2 separate regions of the Homo sapiens genome follow, and region 1 is linked to region 2. Evidence: promoter capture Hi-C in 16 types of primary human blood cells and fetal thymus (Javierre and others, 2016). All regions are on one chromosome and are shown on one strand. The core of a region is centred on a gene start or on the middle of the fragment in contact, and the rest is flanking DNA. Distances in the headings are between cores, read along the strand shown.

Region 1 (7,413 bases), core at 3,595-6,094, 230 kb after region 2:
GGGTTACAAGTATCACTTCAGTTTTCAGAGATTTAGGGTTTCAGAAGTTTGGATAAGAGATTATGGGTTTGGCTGGGCACGGTGGCTCACACCTGTAATCCCAGCACTTTGGAAGGCCGAGGCGGGCAGATCCCTTGAGGTCAGGAGTTCGAGACCAGCCTGGCTAACACAGTGAATCTCCATCTCTAGTAAAAATACAAAAATTAGCCAGGTGTGGTGGTGCAGGCCTGTAATCCCAGCTACTCAGGAGGCTGAGGCAAAAGAATCACTTGAACCCAGGAGGCGGAGGTTGTAGTGAGCCAAGATCATGCCATTGCACTCCAGCCTGGGCAACAGAGTGAGACTCCATCTCGAAAAAAAAAAAAAAGAGAGAGAGACGATGGGTTTGTATTGCGGCTGGCTACTGAATTTTAGCAGGTGCCTATACAATATCGATCAATATGATGTATGTTCACCTTTAATTTGTCAATGTAATAAATTATGTTGGTAAATTTTCTGTTATTGAAACATCTGTACATTCCTGGAAAAATACTATTTGATTACAGCATATTAGTCTATTTGGCACATGGATGGATTCTTATTTGCTAATTATTTTGTTTTGAGACAGTGTCTCACTCTGTTGCCTACGCTGGAGTCCCACGACCTAATCTTGGCTCACTGCAACCTCTGCCTCCCAAGGCTAAGGTGATCCTCCCACCTCAGCCTCTCGAGTAGCTGGGATGACAGGCATGTGCTACCATGCCCTACTAAATTTTTTATTTTTTGGTAGAGACAGGGTTTTGCCATGTCATGCAGGCTGGTCTCAAACTCCAGAGCTCAAGTGACCTGCCCATCTCAGCCTCCCAAAGTACTGGGATTGCAGGTGTCAGCCATCACACTCGGCCCTATTTGCTAATATTTTATTTAGAATGAGAATCTGTATTCCCAAGGGAGATTTGTCTATGAGGCATTAGCATTAAGGTGCGCTGGCTTTGTAACAGATATTGAGGAGCTCTCTTTTTTTTTTTTTTCTATCTTCTTGAGTGGTTTCATAACAGTGGGGTTATCTGTTCCTCACAGGCTAAATAGAACTCAGTTGTGAAGCCATCTGTGTCTGGGGCCCTTTCAAATAGTAAATCTTTAAAGACATTTCCAATTTCTTCTATAGGAATGATCTATTCCCATTTTTTCTCCTCTTTGTGCCATTTTGATGATTTATATGGTTTATAGATCTTTAATTTCATCTACATTTTCCAATCTGTTGCCATAGTTTTATGTAGCATTGTCTTGTAATTATTATACTCTGTTCTCTTTTTTGATTGTGATGTTTTTCTTGTTCCTAATATAAATGGAATGTTCTTTTAATTAAAATTATAATTTGTAATTGCATAAAATCATCTGAAGCTTTACATGACTAAATTAAGTCTTAACCTAGCTTTATAATTATGAAATAGAAGATTGTAATCAAAACCGCATGAAATTGGAATAATAAAAGTAGACAACAATCATCAGAGCAGAATAAAAAACATACAAACAGATTTTGGTAAATACAGGAATCGCGTATGTGAAAAAGATAGCATTTTAATTCAGTAGAAAGTGGATAGTTTATTTTAATAAATGGTATTAGGAAAATGACTATTTACCTTAAGGAAAATACAATTGAACCCCTACCTCACATGATATTAAAAAATAAATTCTAGGTGTATGACTGAAAAAAATAAAAAACAAAAATGTAATTAAAAGAAATGTAAGAAACTGTGTATATAACCCAGAGTTTGGAGACAACTACTAACAAAGATAAAATACCCAGAAGCGAAGAGAGAACAAAAAAAGTACAAATTCATAAACATTAAAAATATTAGATGGTATAAGAAACTACTCATGAAGTTCGTAGATAAGCAATAGATTGGGTAAGAGATTGCAAAGCATCAGATAAATGTGTATTCATAATATATACAAAGCTCATAAACTTTTGACAGGAAGTATATTGCAGCATATAATTCATTCAATAGAAAAATGTGTAAAGATAAGAAATAGGAAGTTAGTGCAACACAAACCCAAATAGTAAAATGTTTGTTATAATTATTGTTTCATTTGTTCCTTCACGCTCCATTTCTAGGATTAATCTTCTGTGAGAGCTGGAATCTTTGTTTTATTCATTGCTGAATCCAAATTGCTAAACCAATGTCTGGCACAGAGTGTGGGCTTAATAAATATTTATTAGACAAAACATGAAATATTATTGGAAGAAGCAATCTTTTAAATTCTTTTAAAGGGCAATCTTTTAAATTCTGTTAAAATAAAAAAGCACACATACCTTTTGATTTTCAGTCCCACTCTGGACTATCTCAGGTTAATAAAACATCATTATATAGACACATGTGAGAGATGAAAATGTTTGTTGTAGTAATAGTTGGAAAAACAATCCCCTCCCCCGAAAAAAAATCCCAAACAGAAAACAACAATGTAACTGCCCAGCAATTGAAGACTTGTTGAATAAATCTACACTCTATAAATCTCTCATACAACTACTAAAAAAAATGTGCTGGATCTTCACCAGTGAGGTCAAGAGGAATTTCGGTACCATGTTGTTACACGAGAAAAGTAAGACCCAAAGAGGTGCATGAGGGAATCCCATATTTGCAAACACCAAATGAAAAGAAACCTCTATTCAGGCGTGTAGATATGTTTGCATATTACACAGAAAGAGGCTGGGGAGGATGAACACCAAGTTGTTTACTGTGGTTATTGTTAGAGGAAGGGAGAGTACAAAACAGAGGTGTGGTGTAAGGCAAAACAAAACAAAAAAAAAACCAGCGGACTTAAAAAACGGTGTGTGTGCTAATGCAAAGCAGGTCCCACCAAAGTATTTTCTAAATGGATTTTGGATTATAAGACTTCATGTGACTTTGACTTTCTTTCTTTTAATTGTATATATTTCTTAAATTCTTTAATACTAAGCATATATTATTGATACAAGCAGAAAAATAAAAGGAGGATTTGAGTGATTTGCCCAGCAACAGAGGAGCATAAGGCCTGGAGCCAGGGCCAGCCTGCAGTTCTTGACAATGACCGTTAAGTGGCCAGCCAGGGCTGCCTGAACCTCAGGCCTTTCGTGGCCTCTCTCAGCCTCCCTGACTCAACGAAGGGCCAGTGGTCAGCAGCTCCTAGTATATTCCCCAGACTTGGACTCATACTTCCGCATCTGCCCAGGTGACCAGCCCTCTTGTCTTTCTTAGTCTGGCCAGCCATATTGCCATTGACTTTAAGCTTCCTGGCAAACACCTGTGTCCACTGAGACAACATAATTGAACATTGGTTGTTCAATTTATTGAACAAAGAACCGGACAGAAAGTAAAATTCCTAAGATTAAATGACCCACTACTTACACTTCTGTCCTTTGACTCCTTAGCAGTGTGTGTGCAGATGATTTTCCATGGGTCTCATGAGTACCTCAGGTCTCTATGGGTCCCCCTACTCCAGTGGCTTTGACTGGAGACCTGGGTTCCTCAAGAGGCCATGGGACAACCAGGGCTGTCACTGGTGCTCGGGCTGCACCCAGCAGTTTCAGGTTGGGTGAAGCCAGGAAGTGCAGAAGTCCAGACAGAGGCAAAACGCATCACACACTGGCTGGGGCTCCAGATGGCTTTGCTGCATTGTGGGAAGGGTGTGAGTCTGTGTATGTTTGTGAGAGAGTGGGAGAGGAAGCATACACACTTATGTGCACTTGTGTGTGTGTGAGAGCGAGAGCATGCGTGTGAATACACATGTGTGTATGTGCTTGAATATGTGTGTGTATATATGTGTGTGTGTGTCTATGTGTGCACGTGTATATGCATGTGTGAGAGAGCATGCATGTGCACCGTGTGCATGTGTGTCTAGTCGGGGGAGTCAGCAAGAGGAGGGGAAGTGGGAAAGGGGAGTTGTTTGTTTATTTGAAACCAGCTAGGCCCTCTAATGCAGACTTTCACCAGAGCAGGGCAGTCAATGTTTGCTTTGGGAGATGCTCAAAGCCTGAAACACAGCTTCAGTCAAACAAGGGGTGTGGTGGAGGCATCAACTAAAAATAGAGAAACTAGAAACCCCTTATTTGCACTTGGCTAGCATGACATGGTTGAAAAGCACTTGACGGATAACGAGTTTTTCTTTTTTTCTAATACATGTTAGCCTTGATAAATTGGTTACAGTTATCCTCATTTTACCACTGAAGAAGGCGAGGCGAGGTGGCTTGGTAAGGTCATGCTGAAGGTGGCAGAGCTGGCAGCTGGAGGGTGTTACTGTCTCCAGGGCTGCTTGAGCCCTCTGCACAAAACAGGTGCACCTGTGGCCCTGCCTGAGGCTCTGTGTCCCTTGGAGGGGACAGTTCAGATTCCCTATCATCTCCCCTGTGGCAAAATAGTTTTGCTATTTTGTATCTGGAAGCCTTGCCATGTTATGTGCTGGAGGCTTTGCCTTTCTGATTTGACCTGCCAGACATAGGTGGGTAGCATCCAGGTAGAACAGGGGTACCTACTGGCAAAGCTGGGACTCACCCTGGGTGTCGCGATCACAATGCCATGCTAGCTGCCGGCATGAGATCCCATATGGAGCATCTCACCAACATCCAGAATTCCAAATTCTCCCAGTACAAACCACCAATGCTATACTCATCTTGTAAATGAAGAAAGTACGGTGATTGGCCTATGGCTCTGAATTAAAGAAGGGGCCAAAGAATTTGAGTTAAAATTCATGTTTCATGTCTCAACTCAGGACAACACCACTGAAATGAGGCTTCCTCACCTTTGCCCTAATACTGACCTCTCCACATGTGAACCTGAAACAGCCCCGATAACAGTTCCTAGCAACGAGGTTCTTCTATTCATTCAGCCACAGACATTCAGTTGCTGTCAACCATGAACTATGTCAGGCATAGCGGAAGGTACAGGCATGAAACAAGGATGGAGCCCACTCTCACAGGAAAATAAGGAGGAAAGGCATGCACCCGATTCCATCAGTTCAGAGTGGGCATGATTCTGTACCAAAGAGAGGCCTGGGTAAAGTGTTTTGTGAGCTCAGCAAAAAGAAATTACTTCCACCTGGGAGAAAACGCTAGCCAGACCTGAGAAGGATGGCTACAACAGATTTTTTTAGATGAAAACTATTTTTTATGAAACCTTCCAAAATATACTAAAGTCAAGAATATTGGCCAGGCACAGTGGTTCATGCCTGTAATCCCAGCACTTGCGAGGTTGAGGTGGGAGATCATTTGAGGTCAGGGGTTTGAGACCAACCTGGCCAACATGGTGAAACCCCGTCTCTACCACAAATACAAAAATTAGCCAGGCACGTGCCTATAAAAATTAGCCAGGCGCATGCCTGTAATCCCAGCTACTTGGGAGGTTGAGGTGGGAGAATCGCTTGAAACCAGGAGGTGGAGGTTGCAGTGAGCCAAGATCCTGCCACTGCACTCCAGCCTAGTTGACAGAGTGAGACTGTCTCAAAAAAATAAATAAAATAATAATATTAATAATAATAGAACTCTTCTACACTCATCACCCACATTCAATAATTATCTTTAAAATTGTTTTCTGGGTTGCAGTATTTTACATCATATCGTTTTATTTCCTCTAAATGAATGAAACTTGGAAACAACATGAAATCAATGTAGTGAAGCAAGTCATTTCACCACCCCATATTTTGCATTTGTTTCTAAAGCATGGAGACATTTGCTCACATAACCCCAATGTTACTTCATCACATCTAACAAAACTAGCAATATTTCCATGGTATCATCTAACCATCCAGCCATTGAACCCAATTCATAATCACATTTTAACAATTGACTTAAAAATAGCTTCTTGCTTAGTTTGTCCTACTCAGGATTCAAACAAGGTTCGTATATAACTCAACGTCTTAGGTTTCCTTTAAACAGGAGTCCCTTCTGCTCTGACTTTGGTTAGTTTCAAGCCTTTGATTTGTAAAGGCCAGTCCTATAGAATGTTCTCCATTTTGGATTTTGCGTCCTTGTGATGGTTCATCACTTGCTCTTCCCTCTCGTCCTTCTTACACATAGAGTTACCTCTGTAGGCTCCATTAGATTCAAGCTCAGCCCCTCTTGGTAGAGATGCTGTCGAGGAGGTGATCTGTGCTCCATGTTGCATCCTACCAGGAGGCTCACAGTGTTTACCTGCACCATTTTAGTGATGCTAAGATAGGTCGAGGCTCAGGCATCCCTATTCCTCCATTGACAAGTTCCTCACCGACATTTAAAAGTCCCATTAGTGGTTACAAAATGGGCGTGCTCTGATTCCATCAGTCCTTCCACACTTGTTAGTTGGGAGTTGAAAGAGCAAAGGATGAGAAACTGGGAACACTAGAAAAAAATACCAGGCACACTCCCAACAGGGTTGGGTAGTATTTCAGAAATAGGTGTTTTTCCAAACACATGAAGATAGAAAACACGTTCAGAAAACAAAGCTTTTCCATTGCTGGATTGTAGAGTGTGTGCTACAGTCATTCACAGCTAATGCTTTGTGCAATATATCCCTTCCTTTCCTTTCCTTCCTTCCCTTCCCTTTTCCTTCTCTTTCTTTCTTTCTTTCTTTCTTTCTTTCTTTCTTTCTTTCTTTCTTTCTTTCTTTCTTTCTTCTTTCTTTCTTTCCTTTCCTTCTTTTCTTTTTCTTTCTTTCTCTCTCTTTCTTTCTTTCTTTCCTTCTTTCTTTCTTTCTTTCATTCATCTGTCTGTCTCTTGTCACCCAGACTGGAGTGCAGAGGCGTGATCATGGCTCACTGCAGCCTTGAACTCCTGGGCTCAAGTGATCCTCCCACCTCAACCTCCCGAGTAGCTAGGACCACAGGCACGTGCTGCCATGCCTGGCTAATTTTTTAAACAATTTTATGTAGAGGTGGGATTTCATCATGTTGCCCAGGCTGGTCTTGAATGCCTGGACTCAAGCAATCCTCCCACTTCAGCCTCCCAAAGTTCTGGGTTGGATACAGGCATGAGCCGCTGCATCTGGCCTCCTTGTGCAATACTTTTAAATGCCAGCAGAATCTTTTCCCAGCACTAGCACAGAGCCTGATGGTGAGAGGCTGCTCTGTAACACCTGGCTGGGTGTGTAAGGGCCTTGGGCACGTGTGGCCCCTGCAAAAGGCTGACCTAGCAATGCCAACCTGTGACTTTTAGGTACTTCGGCACAGTTAGGAGGAGAAATTATGTGGCCATTTCAATTTTTTAAAGTGAAAAGATCTTTTGTGGAAATTCACCTCCCCCCATTGTGGTAAAATTGATAGAAAAGATTTTCAGGTGGTAAAAAGTTTGAGGGTGCTGAGCAGACCTTCAGGAAGGAAGGAAGAAGGCATTTTTATAAAGCTGTGTTAAGTCAAAGACAGACACTTGTTTATCGAGTCACCTACATTTGATTCTGCTAACAGAGAAGCTTGAAATTCATTAGG
Region 2 (7,234 bases), core at 688-3,187:
GATCCTAGGGGAGGCGCAGGATGGGCGACAGAGCCAACCCTTCAGAGGAGTATTACCTCACCTGGGTGTCCTGGAGCCACAGAGACTGCAGGCTGGCGGGCTGTAGCTTCTTACTGCTGCCCCCTGTCTTGACCACCTGCTGACCCACAAAGGGGGAGACCAAATGGTGAAATTTCCTCACCAACGGCCCTTCTGGCATCCCTGTGGGCAGAAATGGGCAAAAGAGGCCACCGACTTAGCTCATTTATCTCTAGCATCTTTAACAGGTGCCAAGCATCCTCCATGCCGCCATTTTTGCTGCCAACTAACTTTAAGAGCAAGCATGGCCAAAAAGGGAGTGTGGCTGGGAGGCGGTCAGATCATAGAGAAGAGCAGCTGTGGCAGGGTGTGGGAAACGTAGCAGGAAAGGCAGCCCCTCTTACCTTTCTTCATGCAGCAAACACTTATTAAGCACCAACAGTGTGCTAGGCAGCACATCATGGGCACCATCCACTTTATTCCTGAGCGGCACCTGCCACACCAGGAGCTGGCCTTTGTTACTTTTTGCCTGGACTGTGAACCTCTAACACCTCCTGACTTTCTCTGTCCCCCTGCTCCCGCTCTCAAAAAACAGCCATTCTGACCCACTGCTGCCGACTTATTTCCCACTTTTGAAGGGACCAGATGCCGCCCTCCAGGACCGCCGACCACTAGCGTGGGGGAGGTGTGCATGAAACGACCAACACGCAGACAGAGCTCAGAATCATAAGTGAGACCCCCAGCCACGTAGGTAAGCCCGGCATAGCTACAGACAGTTATCTCTGATCCCCGAGAAACAGCTGTGGTTCTGTTCTAATCACCACGCAGGGCTCCCAGGGCCACCTCTACTCTCCCTGCCCCCAAATCATCCCAGTCCACTGACAGCCGCCTACATGAGGCAGTCTGAGTGGTGTACACCCGGGCTGTTCGGGCAGAGGAGACTCCCAGCCTCACCCGGGGCAGCTGCCTAACCACCTGTTCCTGCACCAGCCTCTCTATAAGTTATGATGAAAATCGAAAAGAACTAAGTAGATATCGGGCAGGGGGTAGCTATTATATTTCAGTGATTCTAAAAAACATTTTAGAATACTTTTAAAATCTAAGAAATGGTGACGGCTCACAATCTCGGCATTCTCATATTCGGCAGCAGCACATTCAATAACGCGCATCTTACACTCGCTGGTGCCGATTCGCTGAGATGTACTATTTCCCCTCATCAGGCTTTCCAGACACTCCCCAGGGAATCCTGACAAAACCGCCAGGCTGGAAGGAGACGTGCCAAACGCTGCTGACCTTAACCAGTTGGATGCCTGATCCTCTTCTACGGGGAAGCTTCTGGAAAAGCCTTCATCTGAAATGCACCAAGTCCTGAAAATCTCCGGACACGTGGGCATGTTTCGTTTAGGGATTTTTATGGAGATGGACAGGTGGGAAGCAAGCCGCCTCTGCAACAGCCTTGAAAGATGAGACGCGGAAGGGACTTCGAAGAGTCGCTGAAGATGCCGCGCCCACCCTCCGGCCCTCCCTGCCCGGGGGCTACCGAGGAGCTCGAGGCTGGCGCTGCGCCAGCCAGGGAAGAGGAGGGGTTGTCTCCGCCGTTCTCTTCCGAGTGCCCGAGGTGGGGGGTCTAAGACCACTGCTTTCCCAACTCTGCCTCGGGGTGCGGGGAGAGGGGCGCAGACGCGGGTCTGAGGGTCAGTGGGGGCCTCCAGGCGTGGGCAGCACCTCCGCAGGCGGCTGAGACGGAGGAGGGCCCGGGGCCCGCCCTCCCTTCCTGTCCCCTCCCGACTTCTCCGCCAGGCCGCAGATCTACCGGAGGGCGGGCGGCTGCACTCACCGGCTCCGGGTGGGTGGCACGTCGGCCCGACCCAGCACCGCTACGCAGCCCGCACAGCCGCTCCAGCTGGGGGCGGAGATTTCCCGGCTCGGCGGCCCATGCGGCCTCCGTCCCCTTAGGGGACGCCCCTGTAGGTGGAGGCTGCGGGGCTCCTCCCCCAAGTGGGCGTGGACTCCGGCCTGGAGGGGGTGGCGGGGTGCGCGCAGGCGCAGGGCTCATTCCCTGGAAAGTGGGTCTAGGTCGAGGCTGCTCTTTTGTGGGTGGGCGAGGGGTTCCATCCCGGGGGTCGCTGGAGGCAGGGCTGCATTAGAGGGTCGCGAGTGAAAGCAGGGATGGAAGAAGGGTGCAGGCTGGGACTAACATTGGAGAGACGCTCTTGGAAACTTTTTTTTTTTGCGGGGGGAGATAGTCTCGCTGTGTCACCCAGGCTGGAGTGCAGTGGCGCGATCTCGGCTCACTGCAACCTCCGCCTCCTGGGCTTAAGCCATTCTCCTGCCTCAGCCTCCCGAGTAGCTGGGATTACTGGCGCCCGGCTAATTTTTGTATTTTTAGTAGAGACCGGGTTTCACCATGTTGGCCAGGCTGGTCTTGAACTCCTGATCTCAGGTGAGCCGCCCTCCTCGGCCTCCCAAAGTGGTGGGATTACAGGCGTGAGCCACCGCACCCGGCCCTTTTGGAACATTTCTTGTCTCAAGGAGACAGTTATAGGGAAAAGTCAATGGGTGTGTGAATGGGACAGCCTGGGTGTTCCCACAATGGCAAGCCTTTCTGTGGGTTCTGCTTGGCCTCCGAGCCTAATGAAGTCGGGTGCAAAGGAAACAGGTGTTCAAGACTCGTGAAATGTTGAACGGGTGGGATTTTTTTGCTTTCTATTATTTGAATTTTATTACTTGAATTTTTACTATAAGCAAATTTTGCTTAAAGTATTTGTGTATTAAATTTTTTATTTCATAGAATAAAAGAGATAAAACAATAGGCTGTTTAAAGATACATATGTTTTCTTGTCTTTAGTTCTCGAAGGAGGATGGGGAGCCAGCACTTTCCAGGAAGTTGGGAGGAAAGTCTGGGGAACTCCCCAGCAGGTGTTCAGGAAATAGGCTGGGGTGAAGTCACCATGGACCCTAGCTGAGGGGTCCCTGGGGAAGGACTTGGTCAGCACAGGGAAACAAGCCCAGCCCACCGTCAGAGACATGGTTGTGTCCTACTGATTGAGAGGGAGGTTACAAGTGGCCTTCCCACAGTGGTCACCTACTGAACAGGCTAGGGCAGGAGGTGAGGAGAGGGAGGCCTGGGGAGGCCTAGGGTATAGGGTCCTCATCTAGAAAGGCATCTGGAGGCAGAGGGGATGAGGTTGGAGGGCATGGGGTTTGCAGGAGGCATCCCTTGAAGAGCCTCTGGTCCCCCTCTTTCTATGTCCGGCCTTTTCTGGAGAATAACGACCCCCCCACCCCCAGGATGCCCCTGCTATAGGATCAGGCTCACCACAATGGTAGCTTCTGGGCCCCCTAGTTTCTCTTTCTGTAGAGTGGCTGAGCCGGGAGGGAAGCCGTAGCCACAGTCCTCGCCTTACCTGGTGGAATGAATGCCTGGTGCCTAAAGGGGTTCTTCTGAGGCTAAGGGGCTATGCAATTGAAAATCTCATGGTTCACAGCTTGGCTCTGTCATTGATTGTTATTGTTTATTGAGCGCGTACTATGTGCAAAACACTGTTGTGAGCTCTTTGCATATATTGCTTCATTATTAGTTGTGGGGATACAAGCAAGTCACAGTATCTCTGACTTCATTCATTAAATGGGATATCTATTAAATGGTATTATAGAAATATCACAAAGCCACGCTTCTCAAACTTCAATGTACCTATGAATCCCCTGGGAACCTTGTTTAAATGCAGATTCTAAGGTCTATACCAGGGCCCAAGATGTTGCCTTTCCAGCAAGCTGCTGGGTGACGCTGATGCTGTGGTCTAGGGGCCACATTTTTGTTTTGTTTTGTTTTCCGTGACATAGTTTCACTCTTGTTGCCCAGGCTGGAGTGCAACCCAGGCACGATCCCAGCTAACTGCAACCTCTGCCTCCTGGGTTCAAGGGATTCTCCCGCCTCAGCCTCCCAAGTACCTGGGATTACAGGCACGCACAAGCATGCCCAGCTAATTTTTGTATTTTTAGTAGAGACAGGGTTTCTCCATGTTGGCCAGGCTGGTCTCGAACTCCTAACCTAGGTGATCCTCCCTCCTTGGCCTCCCAAAGTGCTGGGATTACAGGTTTGAGCCACCGCGCCCGGCCCTAGGGGCTACATTTTGAGCAGCAAGAATTTAGAGCATCAGCTATTGGCAGTTGGTAGACACTCAACAAATTGAGTGAATGATTCAATTCATCCATGTTATGTGAATGATTAAATGAGATACTAGCTAAGAAACACACATAAACTGTAAGTATATGCAAGTGCTATGCAAGCATATGCAATCATCATTCTAAGACAAAAAGGCTGAATAATCTGCCTGGAAAAGGCCAGCCTAGAATAGTGACTCCACAGAGGAGTGGCTAGAAACCTGCTCCCATACCAGGCTGCCTGGGTCCACATCCCACCACTCAGCTGGGAGAGCCTGGGCAAGTAACTCACTCTTTCTGCATCTCAGTTTCTTCATCTGTAAATTATGACCTTACTGATTTATTTTCTTTCTTTCTTTCTCTTTCTCTTTTTCTTTCTTTCTTTCTTTCTTTCTTTCTTTCTTTCTTTCTTTCCTTCCTTCCTTCCTTCCTTCCTCCCTCCCTCCCTCCCTCCCACCCTTCCTTCCTTCTTTTCTTCCTTCTCTCTCTTCTTTCTTTTCTTTTTTTTTGACAGTCTCGCTCTGTCACCCAGGCCGGAGCACAGTGGTGCGATCTCGGCTCACTGCAACCTCCATCTCCTAGGTTCAAGTGATTCTCCTGCCTCTGCCTCCCGAGTAGCTGGGATTACAGGCGCCTCCCACCACACCCTGCTAATTCTTGTATTTTTAGTAGAGACAGGGTTTCACCATGTTGGCCAGGCTGGTCTCGAACTCCTGACCTCAGGTGATCTGCCCCCTCCTCGGGCTCCCAAAGTGCTGGGATTACAGGCCTGAGCCACTGCACCCGGCCTCTGTGGGATTTCTTGAAAGGATTCAGTTCCATCACTGCATTGGGTCTGGTGACTGCACTGGGTCTCCAGCACTGGATCTGGTGTATAGCATCACTAAACGTTTTAGAAAATATTATTTGTATTATTATTATTAGTAGTAGTAGTAGTAATATTTGTCTGCCTCCTGGATTGGGGCAACCCCCAAGCCCACTGGAGTGGGCCTCAGCTCCAAAAGGATGGGCGCCCAGCTTTCTAGGAGGCGCAGAATCAATTGCTCCCCCTTCCTTTGTGCCCCTGTTTTTTTTCCAACAGAGCTAGAGTTGTAATGCACATGAAAATAGATTAAAATACAGCCACCCCAAAGAATGCGAGGAAGGGAGTGAAAGAGAAAAATACTAGGATCCTGTAACGGATTGAGTTGCTGCTGAGAGTTTGGGGATTCTGAAGCACACGGTGAGGGTCCATGTGGCTCTACGGGCACCTCAGGAGCAGGGGCTGAGTGAGGTTCCGCAGGCTCTTCCAGTTGTCCCTTTTTGGGGGTATGTGGCCATGAACAGTAAGCCCTATTCCCCAATGTCTCTAGGTCTTTCTTTCATTACTTATAAGTTGGGAGAATTTGGAACCAAGGATTCTCCTCAACTCCTAGAAAGACACTGAAAGACTCTTCCTCTTGGACTGCCGTCTAAACCCAGACTGCGCAGGGCTTCCCATTTTGTAGATTTCCACTGTTTAGGAGACACAAGAGTGGGGTGTAAAAGCCCAGATTCTGGAGTGAAATAGATGTTGTTTGAACCCTGATTTCCACTTACTAGCTCTGTGACCTTCAACAAGTGACTAAAAATCCGTAGGCCATATCTTTTTTATGTGCAAAACGTGAGTGGGGGGATATGGAAGTGTTTCCTGCGGCTATAGAAAGCTGCTAGCAGCGTTTGACATGCAGTCATGTTCGATTAGCAGCAAGTGATTTTTGTTGGCAGAATTTCGGGGCTGCTGAGGGATTGACCGCTGGAAAACTCAGGCTGTAATGGAAGCTGAAAGGGAGAACACGTGCGCCCCCGCATGGTAGGCGCATTAACTGCAAGGGCAGTACCCTGGGTCGGTCCCATGGCCCTCCTAGTGAGGGTGGGCGGTCAGTGAATGTTGCTCTTCCTCACACCAGCTCTGTGGCTTTGGGCAAGTTCCCTTGACTAAGAGACAAAAGGATTTCAACCAGATGGTCTGGAGACCCGACATGATTTGTAAATGAGTCAGGCATGGTACCTCAATCTGGGCTTCCTTTCCTTAGCAGGGTTCAGTTTTCTTTGTTCCATTCAGTCTCTCCGGCCAGCTGTTGGAAACTTAGGGGTGCTAACTTCCCAGTCATTAGCAGCTTGTCTTCTGGGAGAAATTCAGTTTCCAAGGCTACTTTGAGGAACAATGCTCTTTGGATGTATGATTCTGGAATCATTTTTTTAAACCTCATTAACTGGGTCACAATGAAGACACTGCTTTCTATTTGAGACTCGAGACACCAATTTTTTTTTTTTTTTTGAGACAGAGTCTCGCACTGTTGCCCAGGTTGGAGTGCAATGGCATGATCTTGGCTCACTGCAACCTCCGCCTCCTGGGTTCAAACAATTCTCCTGCCTCGGCCTCCCGAGTAGCTGGGATTACAGGCGCCTGTCACCACGCCCAGCTAATTTTGTGTATTTTTAGTAGAGATGGGGTTCCGCCATGTTGGCCATGGATGGCCTCAAACTCCTGACCTCAGGTGATCCACCCACCTCAGCCTCCCGAGGTGCTGGGATTACAGGTGTGAGCCACCGCACTTGGCCAAGACATCAATCTTGAGTCTCCAGAAAGAGCATTTTCAAATCTTGGGGCCCTGAGGTGTCATCTGTACCAATGAGAGTGTGTGAGGCCCAGAGAGAGGGGTGAGTCATTTTCCTCCAATATGTGATTCCGTAGCTGCTGGTCCAGTCTTGGACACCTGAAGCTATCCAGGCCAAACCATTTTACAGATGAGAATGCTAAGGTCAGAGCAGTTGGGTGAATGGCCCAACAGCACACAGCCAGCCCATGACCAAACTTGTGCCGGAAGACAAGTCTCAGAATTCCCCGTTGTGGGCACTTCCGGTCCCCTCCTTTTTTTTAAGGAGGCAGAAGCGCAGGGGTCTATGGATACAGGATCCTTCCAGGTGTGTGTGTGCGGCAGTGGCCCCTCCTGGAGGCCCAAGGACCCAGAGGAACCCACAAGCCATTGAAAAACAGTCAGAAAACATCTAAGTAACCATCCATTTAGTA

Evidence for each region. The method cuts DNA at HindIII sites, captures the fragments that hold promoters and counts their contacts. A CHiCAGO score of 5 or more calls a contact.
Region 1: a fragment that was not itself captured here is called in contact with the fragment with the promoter of NEIL2 in region 2 in 1 of 17 cell types (M2 macrophages); the score reaches 5.6 in M2 macrophages.

Annotation. Positions count from the first base shown.
Region 1 is chr8:11,534,455-11,541,867 of GRCh38, reverse strand. All of the region lies in intron 1 of BLK (BLK proto-oncogene, Src family tyrosine kinase), which reads right to left. Among named protein-coding and RNA genes, the nearest start is that of BLK-AS1, 20 kb to the left of the region's middle. RefSeq lists enhancers at 2,778-2,857, 4,018-4,247 and a silencer at 3,540-3,704. The HindIII fragment of the contact is 3,186 bases long and covers 3,252-6,437 here.
Region 2 is chr8:11,764,413-11,771,646 of GRCh38, reverse strand. NEIL2 (nei like DNA glycosylase 2) reads right to left here and starts at 1,937. Exons shown (of 5, transcript NM_145043.4): 1 at 1,312-1,937; 2 at 62-201. The coding sequence starts at 199. It overlaps LOC124901888 (a long non-coding RNA gene), which reads left to right and starts at 197. Exons shown (of 2, transcript XR_007060824.1): 1 at 197-769; 2 at 1,239-2,845. RefSeq lists silencers at 1,547-1,676, 1,717-2,126 and an enhancer at 1,287-1,787. The HindIII fragment of the contact is 12,492 bases long and covers 1,353-7,234 here.